3 separate regions of the Homo sapiens genome follow, and all the other regions are linked to region 1. The links are contacts of gene promoters, found by promoter capture Hi-C in blood cells and fetal thymus (Javierre and others, 2016). All regions are on one chromosome and are shown on one strand. The core of a region is centred on a gene start or on the middle of the fragment in contact, and the rest is flanking DNA. Distances in the headings are between cores, read along the strand shown. Region 1 holds the start of ERICH5 (glutamate rich 5). Region 2 overlaps LAPTM4B (lysosomal protein transmembrane 4 beta). Region 3 overlaps LAPTM4B (lysosomal protein transmembrane 4 beta).

Region 1 (5,082 bases), core at 840-3,339:
CAGCCAAGAAGACAAGCCCTCAGAAGAAACCAGTTCTGCTGACATCTTGATCTTTGACTTCTAATCTCAAGAACTATGAGGAAATACATGTCTGTACTTCAAGCCATCCAGTCTGTGGTACTTTATTATAGCACCCCTAGCAAACTCTCACAGATGGTAACATACTACATTGGATAGTGTGAGACTTCATGAGTGCTCACTGATGTAAGTGAATAAATGGGGGGAAGGAAAAGCACTTCCTTACTTTGTAGTAGAATGGCAGCTAATCAATATAGAAGGAATAATGTAATTAGAAAATCACAGGCACACTGTCTCATGCCTGTAATCCCAGCACTTTGGGGAGGCAAAGGGAAGAGGATCCCCTGAGGTAAGGAGTTCAAGACCAGCCTGGGCAACATGGCAAGACTCCTGTCTCTATAAAAAAATTTTTTTTGGATGGAATCTTGCTCTGTCACCCAGGCTGGAGGGCAGGCTTGGCTCACTGAAAACTGCACCTCCCGGGTTCAAGAGATTCTCCTGCCTCAGCCTCTCAAAGTGCTGGAATTACAGGCATGAGCCACCGCGCCCAGCCTCTTTCTCTCTAAAAAAAGGCCTGGCCAGGCGCGATGGCTCATGCCTGTAATCCCAGCACTTTGGGAGGCTGACGCAGGCGGATCACCTGAGGTCGGGAGTTCGAGACCAGCCTTACCAACATGAAGAAACCCCATCTCTACTAAAAATACAAGATTAGCAGGGTGTGGTGGCGCATGCATGTAATCCCAGCTACTCAGGAGGCTTAGGCAGGAGAATTGCTTGAACCCAGGAGGCGAAAGTTGTGGTGAGCTGAGATTGTGCCATTGCACTCCAGCCTGGGCAACAAGAATGAAACCGTGTCTCAAATTAAAAAAAAAAAAAGCCTGTTCTCACCGGGTGCGGTGGCTGACATGTGTAATCCCAGCACTTTGGGAGTCCCACGCGGGCGGATCACCTGCGATCAGGAGTTCAAGACCAGCCTGGCCAACATGGTGAAACGCCGTCTCTACTAAAAAATACAAAAAATAGCCAGACGTGGTGGCGCATGCCTGTAATTCCAGCTACTCAGGAGGCTGAAGCAGGGAGAGTTTCTTGAACCAGGGAGGTGGAGGTTGCAGTGAGCTGAGATCTCGCCACTACACTCCAGTCTTGGTGACACAGTGAGACTCCATCTCCGGAAAAAAAAAAAAAAAAAAAAAGGCCGAGCGCAGTGGCTCATGCCTGTAATCCCAGCACTTTGAGAGGCCGAAGCGGGTGGATCACCTGAGGTCAGGAGTTCGAAACCAGCCTGACCAATATGGTGAAACCCCGTCTCTACTAAAATTACAAAAATTAGCTGGGCACGGTGGCAGGCGCCTGTAATCCCAGCTGCTCTGGAGGCTGAGGCTGGAGAATCGCTTGAACCCGGGAGGCAGAGGTTGCAGTGAGCCGAGATTGCGCCACTACACTCCAGCCTGGGCAACAGAGAGAGACTCGGTTTCAAAAAAAAAAAAAAATCTATTCTCTTAATAAATGTCAAAGTCATAACGACAAAGCAAGACTGGAGGAACTACTTCAGATTAAAGCAAACTAAAGAGAGACACAACTAAATGCAACGTGCAGTCCTGGATTGGACAATTGGCAAAAAGGGAACATGGAGGGTGGATTAAATCGTACTGTATCAAAGTTAAACTTCCTTGTGGTAATTGTAGTTATGTAAGAAAATAAGACTGTCATCGCACATCTAGTCTACCAATCAATAGCCCCTAGTCCCAAGGCCGCCTCGCCTCCCTGGCTATTTAGTGATGAGTCAGATGATACCTCCCAGCGCTTCGCCCTCGCCCCCTGACATCCTCCCTATCCCTGCTTTAGGGGCTTTTCCTCTCTTACTGTGCCATACCCTCCACCGTCTCCCCTCCTGTCTCCTGGGCTCTACTCCTCCCTGCCCTCCTCTGCGTCCTGGCCCTCCCGCTCTCTTCCGCTTTGCGCTCCCAGGCTCCTTCCACCTCCTGCCAGCTCCCTTCCTCCTCCAGGTGCGCACCCCCTACCATTAGCCCCGCTGCGCGCTTGCGCTCTACGCCCAAGGGAGCCGGGCTGCAGAGCTGGAGAAACTTCCGCGGCTACGGGTGCAGTTGCCTTCGGTTCCCGGTTCCGGGCCGACACCCGCGCAGGGCTGAGACAGGTGTCTGCGCTCCCCGCAATGGGCTGCTCCAGCAGCGCCCTCAACAAGGCCGGCGACAGCAGCAGGTTCCCCAGCGGTGAGCAGGGTACCGGCGCCGCCCGCGCCCGGGCTGGGGACTCGGGTGGGCTAACTCCCCAGGAGGTCCAAAGGGTGTGTCCCGTGGCCACCCCGCCTGGCAGGAGCCGGGCCTTGTCCCGGAGGATGCGAGCAGAACCCGGGACAAAGCGCGATTTCCTTCCAAATCTGGAGCGGCGCTGCTGTGACCGCGGGTGCGGCGGCCCTGGTGCGCTCCGCGGCGCTCGCTGCGAGACGCGCGGGGCCCGAGGCCGGGCGCTGGATTCACCCTGTCCGCTGATGGGATCTCGGGGAGTTGGTGTTGAGGCCCTAAGGCGGTTAGCCTCGGCATTGCCTTAAACACAGGAGAAATGTCCTATCAAGGCCTTCTACCAAGGCTGGGGGCGGTGGCTGACGACTGCAATCTCAGCACTTTGGGAGGCTGAGGCGGGACGATCTCTTGAGACCAGAAGTTCGAGAAAAACCTGGGTAACAAAGCGAGATCTTCCGCTCCCCCGTCTCTACTAAAACACCAACAAAAAAGACTTTTCCCCATTTACCCTCCCATTAGCGTTTCAGCATCAAAGATGGCAAAAGATGCGGAGAATCCAGAGGAGCATTCACTCCATCAAATGGGTCCCTGCACTCTGAATAGGTCAGACACACTTTCCCCTATCTTCGGCTTAAGTATCAGTTGAGAAGTATGTGTGATCAAAAGTGGTCATCACTGACTCTTGCTGAAGAAACTCAACAAGGACATTTTGAGCATCTGCTATATAATACCCCAGTGCTTGGCTAGATGCTGGAGATACAAGTGACCCTGTTTGTAGAGATTGAAGATAGAAGAGACAGAAAAGAAACACGTGAAACAATTGGCTAAGATCGTTTCTGACAGTGATAAGTACTGTGAAAAGTATAAACGCAGTTACATGAATTAGAGAATGACAGGGTTTTACAGCCGACTCACTTTTCTTAGATTTTGAATGGCTAAAATTTTGGACAATGCTATGGAGGTTAAGCAAACTCCGTCAAGCTAGTTTACAGTCTTCTGCAAGGCGAACTTTAGCGGGGATTTTGTACTGGAGTGAATTCCTTTTCACAGATTTTCTCTTAGCACCTTGTGTTATTGCAGTAACAGAAATGTCTTCCTCTGATGTTGTTGGTAGAGCGCACCAGACGGTGAGGAATGCTTTTCAAAGCTCAGCCGCTGTGTCCTAGTCAGAAATATGTTGTGTTGCTGTTATTTTTGTGGTGTATGAGAATTTATTTCTAGTTTCCATAGATAACGGAAAGCAATGACAAGTCAGGAAGTAAACAAAAAATTAAAAGCATTATAAAAGTAAACCCCTTCTCACTGACAACAATGTGAAAAGATGGAAAAATTCATTTCTAATGCACAGTGCTCACTAACTTTTCTCCTAAAGAACCCAGAGCTTCCATACCTGCAACAAGAGGACAGAGCAAGGAGTTTCTCCGATGTTTCGATGTTTCGTGTTTTATGTTATGAAATTAAGTAGAGTTTTGCATTCTGTTCTATGATAGATTTTTGTGGGTTTCAATATGAAAAGCCGAGGGAAAACAGATGCTTCAGGAAGATACATTTTATTATTCTGACTTCTCTACCCCATGCTGTGCTTCAGTTATCCTAGGAGTAGCATCCTGGTTTAACAAGCAGAGTACTGAGTCACCATTACATAGTTTTAAACTGATTAAAACATGTATTTCAGGGAATGTAACTTTGGGGCAAAAGTATTCAGTAGGTGGAATGCAGTTTTTAATCCTCTCAGAAAATAATGAATAACTTTATCTTTAAAAATATTTTATCATCAATATTAATAACTATTCCACGTGAGTTACACTCTTCCATTTTTTATTCTTGCTTTCATTGCTGTTCTGAGTTTTCATAGGTGTTGTTATGGAAGAGATGTTAAAATGCCTGACAGCCAGTTCTAGCCCTTAGAAAATTAACCTAATATGCGGCGTAAATTGCTCAACACACACGTTGAATCAATCAACAGGTCTATTTGCTTCTAACCCTCGATCAAACAATACTCTCTTGTAATTAGATACTATTCTGTGTTCATCAACATTTCAGCTTCATGATCTTAGGCCCGATAAATAATTCATTCCTGTTTCTGCACCTTGCAACTTCTTTAAATCCTATATACAACCTCAAGCTTGTGTGTACATACTTTTAGACAAAAACAGTTCAAGTTTATTACATGTCTGGTACATGCATTTATTCACTGTACTCTCAGTGCCTAACAACGCTTGGCATATAATAGGTCCTCAGTAATTATTTGTTGAATGAATTACTTCATTTAATCCTTATAACAATGTTATGACTAAATATTATGGTTGTCCTGTTTTTACAGATAAGAGTAAATAATTTATCCAAGGTCACAGAGCTTCTAAGAATCAGAGCTGGGCTTTGAACTCATATGCTTTGTTGGGCACAGTGGCTCATGCTTATAATCCCAATGGCTCTGGAGGCTGATATGAGAGGATTGCTTGAGGCCAGGAGTTCAAGGCCAGCCTGGGAAACATAGTAAGACCCTGTATCTAAAAATTTTTGTAAAAAAATTAAAACATGTATTTCAGGGAATGTAACTCTTGGTGGTACAGGCCAGTAGTCCCAGCTACTCAGGAGGCTGAGGTGAGAGGATTGCTTGAGCCCAGGAGTTCAAGGCTGCAGTGAAGTATGATTGAGCCATTGCACTTCAGTCTGGGCAACAGAGTGAGACTCAATTAAAAAAAAAAAAAAAGAAACTATATGTTTAAACCAGCTTCTGCTAACTAGATTTAAATCTGTTTTTGCCTCAGATCACTCTGGATCCCCATTAGGTGTGTGGTCA
Region 2 (5,082 bases), core at 765-3,264, 250 kb before region 1:
TGCATTCCAGCCTGGGCGACAGAGTGAGACTCTGTCTCAAAAAAATAAAAAGAAAAAAGAAAAAATAAATAAAATAGAATGAACCAGATGATATGGCTGTCTTAGAGCAAGCAAGAGAGTGGGACAAGGTGAGGCGAGATTAGAGAGGTAGACTGCTCTGGAATAAAGAGGAACATCAAGGCCTTGATAAGAAATGAAGGTTTTATTTTTATTTATTTATTTTTTTGAGATGGAGTCTCGCTCTATCGCCCAGACCGGAGTGCAGTGGCGCGATCTCGGCTCACTGCAAGCTCTGTCTCCCAGGTTCATGCCATTCTTCTGCCTCAGCCTCCCAAGTAGCTGGGTCAGCAGGTGCCCACCACCACGCCCGGCTAATTTTTTGTATTTTTAGTACACATGGGGTTTCACTGTGTTAACCAGGATGGTCTCAATCTCCTGACCTCGTGATCGCCCTCCTCGGCCTCCCAAAGTGTTGGGATTATAGGTGTGAGCCACCGCACCTGGCCGGAGTTTTTATTTTAAATAAGATCGGAAGCTATGAAGGCTTTCATTAGAGCTTTGAGGCACACATGAGTTTACAAAATAGAAGTTAGACACCTATATATCTATAAAGTAATACCTAATTCATTATTTATATAATCCAGTGGACCAGAAGAACAAACATTAAAAAAATCTGTAAACCAATATCCCTTTTTCTATTTTGAAATAATCTCTTAGTATAAAGTATTTACTAACTTTATGCTAGTTTATTTACAAAATGCCTTTGAGAAGAGACTGAAAGTATTCAGTGGATCCACTACTGATTGTCTTTTTTAAAGAAATTCTTTTTAATCTTTCGGCAGACATGTGCATTGCCATTGCGATTTCTCTTCTCATGATCCTGATATGTGCTATGGCTACTTACGGAGCGTACAAGGTAAGCCGCTTGCAGTAAGATGCTGGCCTTTTCCTTGGTCTCTTACATGTGTAATCTGTGCTGCTGTCTATAGTGAGAAGTGACTTTCCAGTTTTCTGTTAAGAATCTCTGTTTAAATCTCTCGTTTGTATTATGTGGTACTAGGAAAACCAATATTATACTGGAAATTTTTTTTTTTTTGGGAAGACGGGGTCTCACTCTGTCACACAGGCTGGAGTAGAGTGGTGTGATCTTAGCTCACTGCAATCTCCGCCTCCCAAGTTCAAGTGATTCTCCCACCTCAGCCTCCAGAGTAGCTGGGACTACAGGTGTGTGCCACCACACCTTGCTGATTTTTGTATTTTTTAGTAGAGACGTGATTTCACCATGTTGGGCAGGCTAGTCTCGAACTCCTGACCTTAAGTGATCCACCCACCTCAGCCTCCCAAAATGCTGGGATTACAGGTGTGAGACACCACACACAGCCAGTCCTGGAAATGTTCACTGAAGCTTATTTGTTGACTGCTTATATTTGGCATACTGGTTTCCACCATGACCTGGGTTAATGAATTCCAATTTTTCCATTTCCTTTCAGATTAATAAAATACTTTGAATTTAAGAAAAATATTGTTTTATAATATTGAACACATTAACTTTCTATTTTCTGTTCTGTTTAGCAACGCGCAGCCTGGATCATCCCATTCTTCTGTTACCAGATCTTTGACTTTGCCCTGAACATGTTGGTTGCAATCACTGTGCTTATTTATCCAAACTCCATTCAGGAATACATACGGCAACTGGTACGTGGACCTCTTACTGCTCCTTTTCATTAATTCTTTTCATTAGGGAAGCTGGTTAAGTAAGGGATGTGTAGAGATACACAGACATTAATTTCAGGATTTTTAGCTTGCAGCTGAGTTACTCATAGGAAATTTCTTTTTTCTTTTTTTTGAGGTGGAGTCTTGCTCTCGTCACCCAGGCTGGAGTGCAGTGATGCGATCTCGGCTCACTGCAACCTCTGCCTCCAGGGTCTCAGCCTCCCAGCTAGCTGGGATTATAGGCATGTACCAACATACCTGGCTAATTTTGTATTTTTAGTAGAGATGGGGTTTCACTGTGTTGGTCAGGCTGGTCTTGAACTCCTGACCTCAGGTGATCCACCCATCTTGGCCTCCCAAAGTGCTGGGATTATGGGTGTGAGCCACTGTGCCTGGCCTGATAAAGTTTTGAGGGCCGGGGTTATGATTGGTGGCAGTGATGGTGGTGGTTGATGTGCCTACCTAAATTATAGTCCAGTTACTAATAGTCGTATTTGGTAAAATGTAGTTTTCTCAGTTATCAACAAAGGATAGCTTTTTGCCTTTGCTAGTGTGTTGAAAGTGGGACTCTGCTCAAAAACAAACAAAATAATTAGCTGGGAGAGGTGGCACACGCCTGTGACCCTAGCCACTCGGGAGGCTGAGGCAGGAGAATTGCTTGAACCTGGGAGGTGGAGGCTGCAGTGAGCCAAGATCACGCCACTGCACTCCAGCCTGGGCAATAGAGTGAGATCTCATCTAAAAAAAAAGAAAAATCAAAAGAAAGTGGAAAGAAAGTGGAACACTGCTGTATACTAGCTCCCAAATTTGTTTGACCATAGAATCCCTTTCTCAAGCATCATTTTGGGACTAGTTTACGGTTAAATGTCCTTTGTGACCATATGAGTGAATATTGGTGGCAGGGTATTAAGAAGCTTATAATGGCTATGAGGTTGGAATAACTTTATTTATTTTTGGGACAGGGTCTCTGTCACCCAGGCTGGAGTGCAGTGGTGTGATTATGGCTTGCTGCAGCGTTGACCTCCCAGGCTCCCGTGATCCTCCCATCTCAACCTCTTGAGTAGCTGGCACTATAGGCATGCACCACCATGCCCACCTAATTTTTCTTTTTGTATCTTATGTAGAGATGGGGTTTCACCATGTTGCCCAGGCTTGTCTCAAACTCCTAGACTCAAGTGATCCTCCAGCCTTGGCCTCCCAAAGTGCTGGCATTATAGATGTGACTCACTGTACCAGGCCAACTTTACTTTTTTTTTTTTTTTTTTTTGAGACAGAGTCTCACTCTATCACCTAGGCTGGAGTGCAGTGTTGTGATCTCGGCTCACTGCAACCTCCGCCTCCCTGGGTTCAAGCCATTCTCCTGCCTCAGTCTCCTGAGTAGCTGGGATTACAGGCACCCGCTACCAAGCCTGGCTAATTTTTTGTATTTTTAGTAGAGATGGGGTTTCACCATCTTTTCCAGGCTGGTCTCAAACATTTAGCCTCAGAGGATCCACCCTCATCGGCCTCCCAGAGTGCTAGGAATACAGGCGCCCACTACCATGCCTGGCTAATTTTTGTATTTTTTTTTTAGTAGAGGTGGGGTTTTGCCATGTTGACCAGGCTGGTCTCGAACTCCTGACCTCAGGTGATCCGCCCACCTTGGCCTCCCAAAGTGCTGAGATTACAGGCGTGAGCCACCATGCCCAGCCTGCAACCTCAATCTTCTGGGCTCAAGTGATCCTTCCACCTTAGCCTCCCAAGTAGTTTGGACTACAGACATGCACCACCATGCCCGGCTAAATTTGTATTTTTAGTAGAGATGGGGTTTGACTATGTTGTCCAGGCTGGTCTCAAACACCTGCACTCAAGCAATCTGCCTGCCTCAGCCTCCCAAAGTGCTGAAATTACAGGCATGAGCCACTGTGCTTGGCCAAGTTATTTTATTAATAAAAGAGTAAAGTTGCATGATCTGATCACAAAGAATGACGATTTTATTTCTTAGATATTTTGTCCCAAGTGAAAGGAGACTGAAAACCATTAGGTGGTGTTCACCCTGGTGAGCAGGAGCCAAGCCCATGAGTCATGGGCCTTCTCCATGTTCTTCCTCAACATTGGAAACAACTTTGTTTTGGAATATTGCTCGTGAGGAATCCAAACACATAGTGTTGAATGGTGAAGGGAGATAAAAGATGAGATAGCACAGTAGGCTGCCTTCCCATTCACTTGCCTAGGCCAGTGATGTAGGCGTTGATCAATGCTGTGTGAGTGTTCTGTGGGGAAAGTCCGGCAACTCCCTCTAACCATAGTAGCAGACTTTGATCCTCCTGAAAAGGTTCCCTTTGACCTGGTTGTTAAGCATTGTGGATGGTAGTGCTTGATTATTTCCCCCCACCCTGGAAGTACTTGCTAGTATAAGAGAATATGCTGTCTTGGGAGAAGTACCATCAACAAAAATGCTCTTTGCAAAGAAGACCTCATTTTAGTAGGTTTCTGTCCCTTGCCCTGCATATGCCCTTTAGAATGGTTCAGAACTTTTGAGACATGGTCTGGCTCTGTCGCCCGGGCGGCTGGAGTGCAGTGGCATGATCTCGCTCACTGCAACCTCCACCACCAGGGCTCAAGTGATTTGCTCACCCCAGCCTCCCAAGTAGCTGAGCTGGGCGACAGAGAGAAACTCCATCTCAAAAAAGAAAAAAAAAAAAAAAAGGAATGGTTCAGAACTTGCAGAGAATACAAATTTCAGAGATCCCTGGATATACAAAATGTCCCTGGATACCGATCACTGACGTCTTTTATATGGTAAGAGGGCAGAGTCAGGCTAGAAATTTTGTATTGGTTCTAAATAATAGCTGTCTGCTTTAATCAGTTGCTTTCTGATAAGCATGTCTGAATTGGTGCCCAAGGAATACTGTCTGGAATGATTAATGAGATTTGCTAATGAGGCCCTTTTCTTTTGCAGCCTCCTAATTTTCCCTACAGAGATGATGTCATGTCAGTGAATCCTACCTGTTTGGTCCTTATTATTCTTCTGTTTATTAGCATTATCTTGACTTTTAAGGTAAGCATGAAGATTTTACTTATAGTCTAAAAATATTAAGTGTATTCCTGAATACCAAATAAGTAAACAAACTTTGGTCAGTTTATTGTCTTTCTTTGGACATCCAAATTGCTTTTTGATTTCCTAAGATTACAATTCTTTATGCTGTCTATGTTGGAGGTAAACACTAATCAAAATTCCACAGTTTGATCAAGGAGTCCAAAATATATTTGGACAGAGATAAGTTAACATAATGTTATACATTACATAGTATATGATATTGCAACGTCTGTTACAAGGTCTGTGTAATGGATATTCTTTTGTAATTTTTTGCTAAAAGTGTAATATTT
Region 3 (5,082 bases), core at 1,121-3,620, 220 kb before region 1:
ATTAATTTAGCATCCTTTTCAGTCCTGTACGCACCAAATTCAGGTACATTAAAAGCAGCTCACAACGAAACAGTTTTTACCACTGTCATCTGCGTAAATGAACCAGAGGGCCCAGGGGACGGTGAGGGTAGAAGGGGAGAGAAAGAAGATTCTTCAGGAATTGGACTGGAAGAGTTTGAAACTCTAGCCTGTCATTATTGGCTTTCAAGCTTCTTGCCTACTAAGTTTAGAAGAGAGATCTTATTACTAATATCTCAATTTTAGGTATCACTTTTCCCTTATAATTTAGTAATTTATATAATCTCTCCAAGCATTTTCTTTTCTTTTGATTTTAAAAGCCCAAAACAAAAGTGACAGGTTGATATGGAATAGATTTGGTAAAATTGCAAATAAGCTGAGAGAGCACTAAGAGACTGTTTCCAGAGGCAGGGTTAGAGGCAGTGAAGGTCTGGCCCAGGGCAGGAGTGCTGGGAGTGAGCCAGGCAGATGGGAGAGCTGTCAGAGGTAGTTAATAGTAGATCATTGAGGGAACTGGAATGACAGGAGCTTTCTTGTGTGTGACTGTCACTTAACATATACAATCACACACTTGCAGGGTAGGGTAACACCTTGAACGTCATCTGGCCCAGCCATCATTTGATGCCCTCATTTCCTCAACAGTGTGCCCACCAGTTCCATCCAGTGAGGGTTGAGTGACTGCATTGATGCTGTACTCCTCTCTGCATCTCTTAGACCTCCCTACTCTTGTGTTTGTATCATAGGTTTCTCCGCAGACATGTGGCAGTTGCCGCCCATCAGGCCTTGTGCCGAGTGCTTTACATAGATTAACTCAATCACACAAGAGTCCTTCACGTACTAGGTCCTATTAATTCCTGTGTTGCAAAAGAGGAAACTGAGGCACCAAGAGGGTAACTTCCCGAGGTCACCCTGCTAGTCGAGTGGCAGGAGGGGGACTACAACCTGATCAGCCTGGCTGCAGGCTGTTCTGACCCACTCACCTCCTCCTAACTGTTGTCCAGTTGGGACTGCAGCTGGGGCCAAGTGTTCTCACCGCCGTGTCTGGCTGTATTGCCCAGGATGAGGAGTGAAACATGTGGACACTTTTTCATTCAGACAGTTCTTCTCGAGTACAGTCAGAAACTTTAAAAGCAGTGGGATTTTCTGGTTTGTTGTTCGTTTGCTAGTTTTTACCTTTTCACACAGTGGAAGGGAGGGGTGGGTAACTCAGAAAAGGGGCGGAAGAAAAAGAAAGGGTAAAAGTAAATTTTGCATACCAGGGCAGCTGCTTATCTATATAGTTGTGCTACACAGTCCTGCTTCCCATACCCCAGTCCCTGCATTCTCCCGATGTTGTCATATGCGCATACAGCTTCAGATAGACTTACCTGTTGGTTCCAATATCAAAGCATCATGGGTGAGATTGGACTACATGCTCCTGAGATTTTTCTCCCAAAACCTTTTCCTTGGCTGTAATTCTGAGGTTCAGGCTGACAGTATGTGACATTAACTCGGCTCCTATTTCTTTCCTTCTGCATAATATTCTTCCAACAATTTTTTTTGTTTTGTTTTGTTTTTGGTGAGATGGAGTTTTACTCTTGTTGCCCAGGCTGGAGTGCAATGGCGCGATCTCGGCTCACTGCATCCTCCACCTCCCAGTTCAAGCGATTCTCCTGCCTCAGCCTCCCGAGTAGCTGGGATTACAGGCATGTGTTACCATGCCTGGCTAATTTTGTATTTTTAGTAGAGACGGGGTTTCACCATGTTGCCCAGGCCGATCTCGAACTCCTGACCTCAGGTGATCCGCCTGCCTCGGCCTCCCAAAGTGCTGGGATTACAGGCGTGAACCACTGCGCCCGGCCACCAACAATAAAATTTTAAATGTCCCGGTCTGCTGGAAATTATCTCCGAGCCATATAACTTTCCAGTTGTTTCATCCCAGAGCAACATTCGAGAAGACTACACGAGCACTTGTAAACGTTAGGAGGCTTTGCATCTGGGGGATCTCAGAGTGTGTTTGAGAGGACATCTAGAGCAGTCAGATCAACACATGGATGTTTGAAACCTAAAGTTCTTAAAGCTCCAAACAAACCTAGTTTTCGTTGTGAACCATTTTACTATAAAACACACACACAACTTATTTAATAACGTGCCTCAGAGTCCATATTGATTTTACTCTAGGGACAAATAAGGCAAGGAATTTTATATTTTTACATTGTAGGAAAGGTTTCTGGGAATGTATTTCCCTTTCCATTATTGCAAGGGAGGTGGCAGGGAAGGATGTGGAGTAGGGGAGGCAGGTGAAATGGGAGTCTGAGATCCAAGGTCATGAGCAGTCCCTGCATCCCTCCTTTTTCAGCCCATGTTCTGTGGCAGCAGCTGGGCATGGTGGGATTGTATCCCCCTGGAACGGTTGTTGTCGTGAAGGAGATGTGTACAGTAGGTGGCGTAGCACATTCAGGCTTCAGGAACATGCAGAGGCAGCTGCTGAGATGCCTTTGATAGGATTACCGAGGTGATAGCACACTGCTTATTTCATTTCCTCAATATTTAAATATCCAGTATTTACTTAACTATTATACTTCAGTGTGTAGAACCATTTTAACTTTCAGTTTGGGCCACTGTATTGGTATTTTATAATTTTTGGACCCAACTGAAAATATTTGCGGTGTGAATTCTGTATTTTGAGTACAATCTGTATCAAATAATTCAGATAGCTCCTTTGCTGAGAATTAAGGATAATAATGGCTCCCTCCTATTATGAAGTGAAGAAAACAGAGTAGTTTTGCAGTAAATTGAGGATAAAAATCTACCTCTATCTTGTTTGCCTTTGGAAACAATTCCTTGCTCTAGGTGAGAGGAGAGTTTCTCATTAGAACTCCCAAAAATGTGTTTATATTCTCATCTCCCGATGTCTTAGGTTCACTGAAGACAAGATGTTATCACTTGTCAATAGCACTATTATTTTAGGTACCTCTTACTGTGAGGTACTGTTACAAGGCACAGCCAAAATTATTATTATTTTTTAAAATTAAAAGGTAAACTTTAATGTTGAAAATGCAAACTTGGGGAAGACAGAAAAGATCACACACAAGGCTGTCACTTCACACTTAGAAGGTTGCACAGCGGCCGGGCAGAGGTGCTCCTCACTTCCCAGACGGTGGGGCGGCCGGGCAGAGGCGCTCCTCACTTCCCAGATGGTGGGGCGGCCGGGCAGAGGCGCTCCTCACTTCCCAGACGGTGGGTAGCTGGGCAGAGGCGCTTCTCACATCCCAGATGGGGTGGCAGCCGGGCGGAGGCCCTCATCACTTCTAGACAGTTGGTGGCCAAGCAGAGGTGCTCCTCACTTCCCAGACGGTGGGGAGCTGGGTAGAGGCGCTCCTTACATCCCAGATGGGGCGGCGGCTGGGCAGAGGCACTCCTCACTTCCCAGACAGTGGGGAGCTGGGTAGAGGTGCTCCTCACATCCCAGATGGGGCAGCAGCCGGGCAGAGGGGCTCCTCACTTCCCAGTCAGGGTGGCTGGGCAGAGGCGCTCCTCACTTCCCAGACGGGGCGGCACAGCCAAAATTCTGAGATGTTAAGATGTACGAAAATGTATACTTTAGAATAAAAGGTACAGAGTTGTGTGTCTGTGTTTACTTATAGTATATATCATAGGTGGGGCATTTAAAAAGTTTGGAAAAATTATTCTAGATATCTTTCTCTTTTTTTTGAGATGGAGTTTCACTCTTGTCACCCGGGCTGGAGTGCAATGGCACGATCTTGGCTTACTGCAACCTCCACCTCCTGGGTTCAAGTGATTCTCCTGCCTCAGCCTCCCGAGTAGCTGGGATTACAGGCGCCTGCCATCACGCCCAGCTAATTTTTGTAGTTTTAGTAGAGGTGGGGTTTCACCATGTTGGCTAGGCTGGTCTTGAACTTCTGACCTCAGGTGATCCACCTGCCTCAGCCTCCCAAAGTGCTGGGATTACAGGCGTGAGCCACTGCGACCAGATATCTTAAAGATAAGCCCAGACTTTGTATTTCTGATTATTCGATCCCAAATGCCCAAATAACTCTGTGAGTTATTCCAGTTACTCACAGAGGTTCATAATTCACTTATCTCCCCTTCCCTGTTTGGCTTAAGTAAAGGAATCTCACATCAAAACAGGCAAATGTGGCGTGACCAATTTAAGATAAATATTTGATGTAAACACTGCACATTTTAAACAAGATGCATTATAGGTGATTGGGGGTTTTACATGGTGGAAAAGAAAACATATTTTGGCTACTTGGGATTAATTGAAATGGACCTTTGGAAGACTTAAGTGCCCTTAAATAATGAGACTGCTTGGAGACTGTACTTTCTCATCTGACATCACATCTTCCAAGGTTACAATTAAGGGCAGCGCTTTTCCTTAGTGCAGGCAAAGGCAAACTTATATTTCAGGTTTTGGGGGCCATATAGTCTCTATCGCAAGTATTTGACTTTCTGATGAAGCTGGAAAGCAGCTGTAGACAGTATATGTGAATGAATGTGGCTAAGTCCCGATAAAGCTTTACTTACAAACACTGAATTTTGAATTTCATATGATTTTCACATGTCGCAAAACATTTTTCTTTTGAATTTTTTTTTCCTTCAACCATGAAATGACATTTAAAAACTTCTTAGCTCCCAGGCCATACAATAAAATGGTGACAGGCCCTATTTGGCCCACATAGTTTACCAACCCCAGCCTTACTAGAAATTTAGGCTGAGTTTTCTAGGCAACTGTAGGACAGCTATCTGAAACATTCCAGATTGTTCAGTAGCCCCTGCTTTTGGCTTGGATAGATCTGAATTGAACTATTCCCTCCTGCAGGAGGGCCGGCAAACAGGAGTACCTAATCTTTGTTTTTTTGTTGTTGTTTTTGTTTTTGTTTTTGAGACAGAGTCTTGCTCTGTTGCCCAGGCTGGAGTGCACTGGCGCGATCTCAGCTCACTACAAGCTCCGCCTCTTGGGTTCAAGCATTTCTCCTGCCTCAGCCTCCAGAGTAGTTGGGACTACAGGCGCCCGCCACCACGCCTAGCTAATTTTTGTATTTTTAGTAGAGACGGAGTTTC

Evidence for each region. Contacts are between HindIII fragments. The CHiCAGO score rates a contact against its expected background, and 5 or more counts as called.
Region 2: a fragment that was not itself captured here is called in contact with the fragment with the promoter of ERICH5 in region 1 in 2 of 17 cell types (M1 macrophages and endothelial precursors); the score reaches 5.2 in M1 macrophages.
Region 3: a fragment that was not itself captured here is called in contact with the fragment with the promoter of ERICH5 in region 1 in 1 of 17 cell types (megakaryocytes); the score reaches 5.2 in megakaryocytes.

Annotation. Positions count from the first base shown.
Region 1 is chr8:98,062,479-98,067,560 of GRCh38, forward strand. ERICH5 (glutamate rich 5) reads left to right here and starts at 2,090. Exons shown (of 3, transcript NM_173549.3): 1 at 2,090-2,249. The coding sequence starts at 2,192. RefSeq lists a silencer at 2,131-2,230 and an enhancer at 2,471-2,530. The HindIII fragment of the contact is 8,700 bases long and covers 1-4,402 here.
Region 2 is chr8:97,814,486-97,819,567 of GRCh38, forward strand. It overlaps LAPTM4B (lysosomal protein transmembrane 4 beta), which reads left to right. Exons shown (of 7, transcript NM_018407.6): 3 at 843-916; 4 at 1,573-1,695; 5 at 4,655-4,753. Among named protein-coding and RNA genes, the nearest start is that of LAPTM4B, 41 kb to the left of the region's middle. The HindIII fragment of the contact is 1,222 bases long and covers 1,404-2,625 here.
Region 3 is chr8:97,837,634-97,842,715 of GRCh38, forward strand. The region is part of intron 6 of LAPTM4B (lysosomal protein transmembrane 4 beta); the gene reads left to right. Among named protein-coding and RNA genes, the nearest start is that of MATN2, 29 kb to the right of the region's middle. The HindIII fragment of the contact is 4,326 bases long and covers 208-4,533 here.